2 separate regions of the Homo sapiens genome follow, and region 1 is linked to region 2. The links are contacts of gene promoters, found by promoter capture Hi-C in human tissues and cell types (Jung and others, 2019). All regions are on one chromosome and are shown on one strand. The core of a region is centred on a gene start or on the middle of the fragment in contact, and the rest is flanking DNA. Distances in the headings are between cores, read along the strand shown. Region 1 overlaps STAT2 (signal transducer and activator of transcription 2). Region 2 holds the start of ANKRD52 (ankyrin repeat domain 52).

Region 1 (4,970 bases), core at 90-2,589, 92 kb before region 2:
GGGCTTAATATAAGTTGTACATAGCATATGAAAACTGTTATGTTAAATCTATTAGCAGTTTTATATGTGAAAATAGCTTTGATTTTCATTTCTTGGATTATGAATCATGTTGAATAATCCTTTATATGCTTCCTGGATTCTTTTTTTTTCTTCCCCCCAGTCAGTTTCTGACTCTTCACATATTTACAGAGAGATCTTGGAACCTGGATGGGGGAATCCAGGAAACTCATGGATTCCTTCTTCCTGAATTTTATCACCCAGGTTCACAGCTGGAGCAAAGCTGTTGTTTCACCTGAGGCAGCTGCTGAAGGAGCTGAAGGGACTGAGTTGCCTGGTTAGCTATCAGGATGACCCTCTGACCAAAGGGGTGGACCTACGCAACGCCCAGGTCACAGAGTTGCTACAGCGTCTGCTCCACAGGTCTAGAGGCCAGGCAGGAACCCTGGGGGAAAGAAGGAACAAGGGAAGCCATTCTTACAGATACTGAGCTATATATTCTCTCCACACCTCTCTCTCCTCAGAGCCTTTGTGGTAGAAACCCAGCCCTGCATGCCCCAAACTCCCCATCGACCCCTCATCCTCAAGACTGGCAGCAAGTTCACCGTCCGAACAAGGTTGGCATTCCAGAACTCATTCCCACTTCCTTTTTCCAACCCTGCCACTGTGTATTTTCTGGCTTTACAGCTCTTCCCACTCTTGGCTTTTTCTTCTCTTTCCCTGCAATCTCCCTACCTCTTATAATCCCTCTTCTCTTTTTCAAACATCTAGTCTATCCGGAAGGTTGAGGTTGACCACTTTCCCCTATCCCCCTTCCTTCCCCCAGGCTGCTGGTGAGACTCCAGGAAGGCAATGAGTCACTGACTGTGGAAGTCTCCATTGACAGGTAAATTGGAGCAGGTGAAGGGTGGCCAGGACACGGGCTGCTGGGGTGGAGGAGATACTCACTCTTCACAACAGGGCCCTAGGGCTATCTCCTTCCTCCTTCCAATCCTACCTCACAGAAATTATAATTCATTTCTTTTGTTGAACACTTACTTTGTGACATGCAGCATGTCAGCTACTCATTTAATTGTCACACCAACCCCATGAATAAACTATTACCAGTGCACTGTACAAACAAAGATACAGGCTTAGAGAGACTGATTACATCTCTTCTCAAGGCCACATAGCTAGTGAGCTCAAGTCGGGTTTGAACCGAGGTCTGTCTGATCCCAAAGACGAAACTCCTAACTTCCATACTCTTTTGCCCAATGATTTTTTTAAATTTATTTCTTTTCAGGAATCCTCCTCAATTACAAGGGTAGGTGCTTGACAAGGACACTGCAAACATCTGTACAGTGTATGACCTGCAGAACCACATTCGGCAGCCCTGGTGGCACAAACAAGGAAGAGGGGGATTTGGGATATGGACAAAGGGAGATGGCGAGATCTGAAATGAAGTGGAACTTCTGTTTTTTTTTTTCTGCTGAGTTTTTAGAATAATTCCATTCCTTGTCTCCATGTATCTTCCTCCTGGAACAGCTTCCGGAAGTTCAACATTCTGACTTCAAACCAGAAAACTTTGACCCCCGAGAAGGGGCAGAGTCAGGGTTTGATTTGGGACTTTGGTTACCTGGTAAGAATAGTTTGTGACCTATGCTTTTATTACTATTTTTATTTTTTTGAGACGGAGTCTCACTCTGTCCCCCAGGCTGGAGTGCAGTGGTGCCATCTTGGCTCACAGCAACCTCCGCCTCCCGGGTTCAAGCAATTCTTCTGTCTCAGCCTCCTGAGTAGCTGAGACTATAGGCACACACCACCATGCCCGGCTAATTTTTGTATTTTTAGTAGAGATAGGGTTTCACCATATTGGTCGGGCTGGTCTCGAACTCCTGACCTCAGGTGATCCACCCGCCTCAGCCTCCCAAAGTGCTGGGATCACAGGCATGAGCCACCATAGCTGGCCTGCTTTTAGTCCAAAGGAACAGGGGTTGGGGGAAGTTCCCAGGGCTTGAGAGGTCTTGAAGCCAAACAGGGGTTCCAGGGACACTAGGGTGCCCACTCTGGCATTTTCTCTCCTTCCCTTCAATTCACAGACTCTGGTGGAGCAACGTTCAGGTGGTTCAGGAAAGGGCAGCAATAAGGTGAGATCTGGACAGAGGACTCGAGGCAGGGGGAGCTTGCCAAAGAGCCTTCTGATGACTATGTCTTTGGCTGTCCCAGGGGCCACTAGGTGTGACAGAGGAACTGCACATCATCAGCTTCACGGTCAAATATACCTACCAGGGTCTGAAGCAGGAGCTGAAAGTGAGTGAAAATGGAGGGCAAGGAGAGAGAAAGCAGCTTTGGAAGAAGGCATAAGAAGGGGATAAACAGAAGCCTCTTGGGGTGGGTTAGCACTCCTTTCCTCTAACAAATACCTGCAGCTAGAAACATCACATCCCTCTCTGTGACTCCTGTCTTCTCCCCAGACGGACACCCTCCCTGTGGTGATTATTTCCAACATGAACCAGCTCTCAATTGCCTGGGCTTCAGTTCTCTGGTTCAATTTGCTCAGCCCAAACCTTCAGGTAGGGGAGTGGGGCCGACAGGTCAAGGCGCGAGAGGAGGGGTGTGGAAGCTTGGTGTGATAGGTTGCTTCTGAGCCAGCCTACACTGCTCCCACCCCTGCAGAACCAGCAGTTCTTCTCCAACCCCCCCAAGGCCCCCTGGAGCTTGCTGGGCCCTGCTCTCAGTTGGCAGTTCTCCTCCTATGTTGGCCGAGGCCTCAACTCAGACCAGCTGAGCATGCTGAGAAACAAGCTGTTCGGTACAGATTTCCTTTTCTCTCAGCCTTTCCCCAGCCTTAGTCTTTTCTGTCCCTCTGTCCTATCTATCCCAGGACCCCTGGCTTCCCTCATCATCTGTCTGTGGCTATCTGTCCCACAGGGCAGAACTGTAGGACTGAGGATCCATTATTGTCCTGGGCTGACTTCACTAAGGTAACTCCCTGAATCCTGTGGAGCTGCTGGATCTAGCCCACATTCCAAATACTGGCCTTCCCACGTCCCTCCTTCCCTACACCAGAGGCAACTCCTCAGCTTTTGCTACCTTTCCATTCCTCCTCCAGCGAGAGAGCCCTCCTGGCAAGTTACCATTCTGGACATGGCTGGACAAAATTCTGGAGTTGGTACATGACCACCTGAAGGATCTCTGGAATGATGGGTAAGGCCTTGGTCACCCTTCCCTCATGGGCTTGTGCTTTCCGGGCTTGAGAGTGGAGTCTCTGCACCCTCACGTGGCAAGCAGGGAGAGAGAGCAAAGACAGGTGCAGGCCACGTCTCCTCACATTTGTTAACAATAATAAGGCCGGGTGTGGTGGCTCACACCTGTAATCCCAGCACTTTGGGAGGCCGAGGCGGGCGGATCATGAGGTCAGGAGATCGAGACCATCCTGGCTAACACGGTGAAACCCCGTCTCTACTAAAAATACAAAAAATTAGCCGGGCGTGGTGGCAGACACCTGTAGTCCCAGCTACTCAGGAGGCTGAGGCAGGAAAATGGCGTGAACCTGGGAGATGGAGCTTGCAGTGAGCCGAGATTGCGTCACTGCCCTCCAGCCTGGGTGACGAGCAAGACTCCGTCTCAAAAAAAAAAAAAAAAAAACAACCAATAATAGCCATAAACAGTGTTTGTGAAGCATCTCCTACATTCCAGAGCTTGATGGGTGCTCTTCATTAATTCTCTCATCTCATCCTTACAACCATGCTGAGTGGTGGGTTTTGCCAGCTTCATTTCATGTGAGGAAACTGAGTTTCAGAGAAGTTAAAGAACTTACCCAAGGGACACAGTTGATATTCAAATCCAGGCCTATGTGACTCCAAGCCCATGCTCTTTCCACCACACTGCCTACCAACTTGTGTAGCATTTGGCTTTTAAAAGTGCTATTCATGACCAGGCACGATGGCTCACGCCTGTAATCCCAGCATTTTGGGAGGCCGAGGTGGGTGGATCACCTGAGGTCAGGAGTTTGAGACCAGCCTGGCCAACATGGCGAAACCCCATCTCTATTAAAAATACAAAAATTAGCCGGGTGTGGTGGTGGGCGCCTGTAATCCCAGCTACTCAGGAGGCTGAGGCAGGAGAATCGCTTGAACCCAGGAGAGAAGGTTACAGTGAGCCAAGATCGTGCCATTGCACTCCAGCCTGGGTGACAGAGCAAGACTCTGTCTCAAAACAAAACCAAAAAAAAGTGCTATTTGTGGCCAGGCGTGGTTGCTCATGCCTGTAATCCTAGCATTTTGGGAGGCTGAGGAGTACAGATCACTTGAGCCCAGGAGTTCAAAACTACCCTGGGCCACGTGGTGAAACCCCGTCTCTACGAAAAATACAAAAGTTAGCCAGGCATGGTGGTGTGCACCTGTGGTCCCAGCTACTCTGGAGGCTGAGAGGTGGGAAGATTGCTTGAGCCCGGGAGGTCGAGGTGGCAGTGAGCTGTGATCATGCCACTATTCTCCAGCCTGGGTGACAGAATGACACCCTGTCTCCCAGAAAAAAAAAAAAGTGCTGTTCATCTGTGTGATCTCACTGAATCTTCGTACTTCAAACCCTCGGAAGGTGGCTATTGTCAGCAAAGTGAAGTGACTTGTAAAAGATAAAAAAAAGCTAAGTGGCAGGGCTTGGTCCAAAGCCTGGATTCCAAACCTGGGCTGTTTCTCCATACAAGGGGAGCAGGGAGGCAGGGGCCTGGTGGGGCAGGGTGTTGGGCGGTGTCTCACAGCTGCTCTCTGTGCTCCAGACGCATCATGGGCTTTGTGAGTCGGAGCCAGGAGCGCCGGCTGCTGAAGAAGACCATGTCTGGCACCTTTCTACTGCGCTTCAGTGAATCGTCAGAAGGGGGCATTACCTGCTCCTGGGTGGAGCACCAGGATGATGGTCAGCTGCTCTGCCCTGCCATTCCCACAGCCTCTCCTTTCTGCCTGGCTCCCCTCTTGCCCCTCTGCCTGCCCTTG
Region 2 (5,226 bases), core at 1,078-3,577:
TAGTCCCAGCTACTGGGGAGGCTGAGGCAGGAGAATGGCATGAACCCCAGAGGCGGAGCTTGCAGTGAGCCGAGATCCCGCCACAGCACTCCAGCCTGGGCGGCGACAGAGCGACACTGGTCTCCAAAAAAAAAGGTGAAATGAGAAACAAAGGTGTACAATTTAACCAGATTGTGGCAGTATAAACTAAGTATGTAAGTGTTAAGGAGAACTAACAAAAGGAAAAGAGCCTATTAGCCAGAGGAGACTTCCTGGAAGAGGTAAGTTTAAATTTCTTCATAATTTTTGTGTGTGCATGGAATCACGGAGTGATTGCTCCTAAGCAATATTTTAACTTTTATTTTCAATATGGTAAAAATTTAAAAAATTCCAAAAGGTATATAGTGATAGGTAAATTTCTCTCTCATTCCTTATTTCCTGTACCCCAGTTTTTCTTTCTGGGAAAAAAGGACTGTTACTAGTGTCTTAAGTATCTTTCTAGCAGGAAAGCAAGGGAAGGCTTTTTTTTTTTTTTTTTTTTTTTGACATGGAGTCTGGCTCTGTCACCCAGGCTGGAGAGCAGTGGCTCCATCTCGGCTCACTGCAACCTCCGCCTCCTTGGTTCAAGTGATTCTCCTGCCTCAGCCTCTCCAGTAGCTGGGATTACAGGCGTGCACCACCACACCAGGCTACTTTTTTATATTTTTGGTAGAGATGGGGTTTCACCATGTTGGGAATGGGAAGGCTTTTTTTTTTTTTTTTTTTTTTTTTTTTTGAGACGGAGTCTCGCTCTGTCGCCCAGGCTGGAGTGCAGTGGCGCAATCTCGGCTCACTGCAAGCTCCACCTCCCGGGTTCACGCCATTCTCCTGCCTCAGCCTCCCAAGCAGCTGGGACTACAGGCGCCCGCCACCCTGCCCGGCTGATTTTTGTATTTTAGTAGAGACGGGGTTTCGCTGTGTTAGCCAGGATGGTCTCGATCTCCTGACCTCGTGATCCACCCGCCTCGGACTCCCAAAGTGCTGGGATTACAGGCGTGAGCCACCGCGCCCGGCCGGGAAGGCTTTTTTGAAATGTATTTTCGCCGGGTGCGGTGGCTCACGCCGGTAATCCCAGCTCTTTGGGATGCCGTGGCAGGTGGATCACCTGAGGTCAGGAGTTCGAGACCAGCCTGACCAACATGGTGAAACCCCCGTCTCTACTAAAATAAAAAATTAGCCGGGCAGGGTGGCGGGCGCCTGTAGTCTCAGCTACTTGGTAGTCTGAGACAGGATAATCACTGAACCCGGGAGGCGGAGGTTGCAGTGAGCCGAGATCGTGCCACTGCACTCCAGCCTGGGGGACGAGAGTGAAACTCCATCTCAAAAAATAAAATAAAATGTATTTTTATTTTTTAATTTTTTTCCTCTCCCCTCAAGGGAGGATTTTTATATATAAAGCCTTGACAGGACGCCAGCATGCTGCACTTCGTCCATTTCGTGTTCTCTTCAATGTGTATTGAGTTGTGAAACTCTGAACAGGACCCTGGATCACCTTTTATAAATTGTATCAATTTTTCAATCTCCACTTTTCGTCTTCCTCCTTTTTCCGTTTCTGGGTTGAGATGACCTCCATTCATTTCTTCTCTAATTGACGGCTCTCTGGCCTCTCCATTGGAGGAGGGGAAGCGCCACAGGCTGTTCTGGGGAGAAATTGTTGAGTGTTTTCCACTTTAACCTTGCAATGGAATCAGTAAGGAGTTGGAAAATGCCCCTTCTGTTGGTCTTGGCGGCCTTTTCCAGCTGCCAGTTGTCATGGCCTCTTTGTGGGTGTTTTCTGCAGTAGAATCCTCCTTGGGGTTTCTCTGCAGTTTGAGCACTTTTGCTATTTCTTCTCTACCGAACTCACGCCTCCGCCAGTGGAGATACACGCTTTCCCTCCCTCTGGGGCTATTGCCATACATAATTCCCAGTTCTCCACCCGCCAGTTCCTCCTAGTCTGTGGGGGATTTCGGGGTGTGGAATCGCTGACGGGAGGAGTTAGCTCGGGCGGGAGCATTGTGGGCTGGGTAAGATCTGGCCAGCCGTTCGGTCCTCAGTTTGGGAAGCACCGCGGGACTAAGGCCCAGGTTTCCGCTAGGGTCTTGTGGGGAACCCCTTGGGCCGCCAGACTGGAGCGGAGAGCACAGCGCGGCCAGCTGCGTGAGCCGGGGAGCCGGCGCGCGAGTTCGGGGGTGCAGGGGCTGCTGGGGCCGCCAGGGTGGGGCGGAGGGCGCTGCGGCCGGGGTCCGTTTGCGCGGGGAGCGCCGGGACCAGGACGGCCGCCAGGGAGCGCTGCGGCCTCCAACTCGCCCGCCCCCCGGTAGGCGGGGCCGCGCTCTCCCTGCAGCCGCCACCGCAGCCGCCGCCTGGGCCGCTCCGTGTCCCCGGTGGAGCCGCCGCCGCCGCCGCCGGGAGCTCGATGCGGACGGAGCCCGGGCCGAGCCATGGGGATCCTCAGCATCACGGACCAGGTCAGCCCTCCTGCCCTTTCCCGCTTCCTCCTTCCAGGGCTCGGCGCTGCCGTCACGCGAGCCCGGGGATGTGCGGCCTAGGCTGGGCCTGAGCCCGGGGCTCCCGCAGCTCCCGCCCCGCCCCATGCCGCGCTCCCCTCAACCGAGCCGGTGTCCTTGGGGACCTGGCAACCGGCGGAGGCACCGCGGGAGCTCGCTCCAGCCAGAATCCCTAGAGTGGAGCCCCTCCACGGACGCCCCCCACTCAAACCTAGGTGCTCCCCCACCCCCACCCCCACACCGGTTCCGCTCCGGCTCCAGCCCGCTCTCAGAATGCCGGTTCTCTCTGCAGCCGCCCCTGGTCCAGGCCATCTTTAGCCGAGATGTGGAGGAAGTGCGTTCCCTACTCTCGCAGAAGGAGAACATCAATGTGCTGGTGAGTTGGGAGCAGGGAGGATGGCGAGACCGGAATCCTGGCTCCCGTGTTCTGGACCCCTCCCCACCGGTGGGGCGGCTCCGTGTCTCCTCTGCTCAGATGAGGCCGCAGTTCTTTCCATCCTGGAGTGAAAGCCTACTCTGCATTTGGGGATGGAGAGCAGGTCAGGCTTGAAGCCCAGATCACTTGGGCTGGGAATGCCCAGGAACGTTGTTCTCTTCTCAACCTCCGGAGTCTGCAGCGCCCCCACCCCTCCTGGAAAAAGGAGCCGGCTTCTCAGCCCATTGGCCCTGACTCCACCCTCCCTAGGTGCTTGCCTTTGACTCCCAATACCGGGACTTAGGACGCTGCAGAAACTATGGGAAGAGGTTGTGGGGAAGGGCCTGGAGCTCTGAGACTTGGGCTGGGGTCCTTGATAGCCCCCTTACCCCGCGCCCATACTCCCTGCTCTTTTTTGCCTTCCCAGGACCAAGAGAGGCGAACTCCATTGCATGCTGCTGCCTACGTAGGCGATGTCCCCATCCTCCAGTTGCTACTGATGTCAGGTGAAAGTGGGGAGCTGGAAGGTGTGGCACATAGGGAGCGAAGGGAGGGGAGGAGTCTTTTTTGATATTCAAGGATTGCTCTCCCCGGCTTGGTCCAGGCGAGGCTCCAGCTCCATTCAGATTTCCTGGCCTGATTACTGGCTTCCTTCATACCTCCTCCCCACCTTCCATCAAAATAGGAAATTATATCCCCACAGGTGCTAATGTCAATGCTAAGGACACACTGTGGCTGACCCCTCTTCATCGTGCTGCTGCCTCCCGAAACGAGGTATGCACCCCCACCTTCTATTACCCTTTCAAAAAGGATAAGTTGCTTAAAGGTGGGGGTTAAGGGTTAAGGAGCCTCAGTCCTCAGCCCTACAAGCTGTTCTACCCCAGGTAGTGAGGAGATCAAATCTTGGCCCCTTCCTCCTACCCCTAGAACTGGCCAGTAAGGGGGTTGAGTGCTGCCAGCTGATGTGACTCAGGAAGAGCTTAACACTGGGCTGGCAGACTGCGGGGGCCCTGCTGCCAGGCCTGAGTGACTCATCCCTCCCTGGGGGGCCACCTTGAGTCTGATCCCCCTCTGGGCACTGAGATTTCTTTTCCTTGTGATGGAGGATGGGTATAGTAATCTGTTGCATCCTTGGCCCTCAAGCAGCTTGAAAGTTGACAGCACAGGGGCCAAACATATTTCATCAGTTGGGTCCTTTATCCTATTCCCATCAGCCCTGAAGACAGGGAAAGGGGGACCTCCTCCTCAGTTCATCACTTCCCTGGCTCCAGCCACCAGGGGGAGGGGCCGAGGCCAGTGGGAATGAGGTGGGTGGTGGTTAGGAGGGGCATTTTAGCTCGGGTTTTGCAAACGAACCAGTATCTGTTTGCTTACTGAGATACTGAAAATAATTTTGGTGCCTATGAGAAGGCTAAAGAGGGTGTTCAGGGCAAGATGTAGCAAGAGCATTTAGTTTTCCTAGAAGTAGTAGGGGGTTGGGATGTGTGGATCTCCACATGTGGATTTGTTTGGGAATGGATGTATGTGTGAGTGAAGATTTTCAGGGTCTAAGTTGGCGAGTCAGGTGGCTTGAAGAAGAGCAAAGGGTCCTTGTTTTAATCAGCAAGGTAAGGAAGAGCTTAAGTTCTAAGAAGATCCAGAAGATGGAAAGTAGGTATTCAGAGGCTAGGTATGTTGGAAAAATGAGAAGAGATTCTGTGCTGGGGAAGGGGCTGTAGATGCTATGCTGACCTATTCCTCCTTCCATTTCCTGTTGTTTTACCTCCTGCTCCCACTCTCTCTTTTGTCCCCTGCCCCTCAACAGAAGGTGCTGGGGCTGCTGCTGGCACATTCAGCAGATGTGAATGCCCGGGACAAGCTGTGGCAGACACCACTGCATGTGGCTGCTGCCAACCGGGCCACCAAGTGTGCTGAGGCTCTGGCACCCCTGTTGAGCAGCCTCAACGTGGCTGACAGGAGCGGGCGCAGTGCTCTGCACCATGCAGTGCATAGTGGGCATCTTGAGGTGAGGACTGTTCCCATCCAGGCCCAGCTGGGGCTTTCCCTTTTCTTACCTTCCTACTCACGTTTCCCTGCTTCTGGGCCCTCAAGCCTGAAGGAGAAGCAGCCCGGATGGTTATATAAACACTTAAGCTGAAGCACTAAATGAATGGTCAGACTAGATTAAAATTCTTAACTTGGACTTCAGGAGGTTGATAAAACCTTGGATTTTGCGTGGAAAATATTTGCATACACGCCTTTCTGAAGAGAGTCCATGTCTTTCAGCACATTTGCAAAGACTTACAAGAGTTTAAGAACCGGCCG

Evidence for each region. Contacts are between HindIII fragments. The study calls those that stand out against the background at their distance.
Region 1: a contact is called between a fragment that was not itself captured here and the fragment with the promoter of ANKRD52 in region 2, in 6 of the 25 tissues and cell types used here (aorta, bladder, liver and 3 more).

Annotation. Positions count from the first base shown.
Region 1 is chr12:56,346,742-56,351,711 of GRCh38, reverse strand. STAT2 (signal transducer and activator of transcription 2) reads left to right here. Exons shown (of 24, transcript NM_005419.4): 9 at 262-420; 10 at 522-614; 11 at 824-883; 12 at 1,280-1,300; 13 at 1,522-1,615; 14 at 2,076-2,123; 15 at 2,203-2,286; 16 at 2,451-2,549; 17 at 2,653-2,788; 18 at 2,908-2,960; 19 at 3,089-3,183; 20 at 4,757-4,893. Among named protein-coding and RNA genes, the nearest start is that of IL23A, 10 kb to the right of the region's middle. RefSeq lists a silencer at 4,269-4,318. The HindIII fragment of the contact is 5,164 bases long and covers 1-3,921 here.
Region 2 is chr12:56,255,485-56,260,710 of GRCh38, reverse strand. It overlaps ANKRD52 (ankyrin repeat domain 52), which reads left to right and starts at 2,327. Exons shown (of 28, transcript NM_173595.4): 1 at 2,327-2,468; 2 at 2,800-2,883; 3 at 3,350-3,428; 4 at 3,626-3,696; 5 at 4,727-4,927. The coding sequence starts at 2,442. RefSeq lists silencers at 2,069-2,128, 2,139-2,688, 2,709-2,778 and enhancers at 2,839-2,888, 2,969-3,018, 3,325-4,317. The HindIII fragment of the contact is 23,354 bases long and covers 1-5,226 here.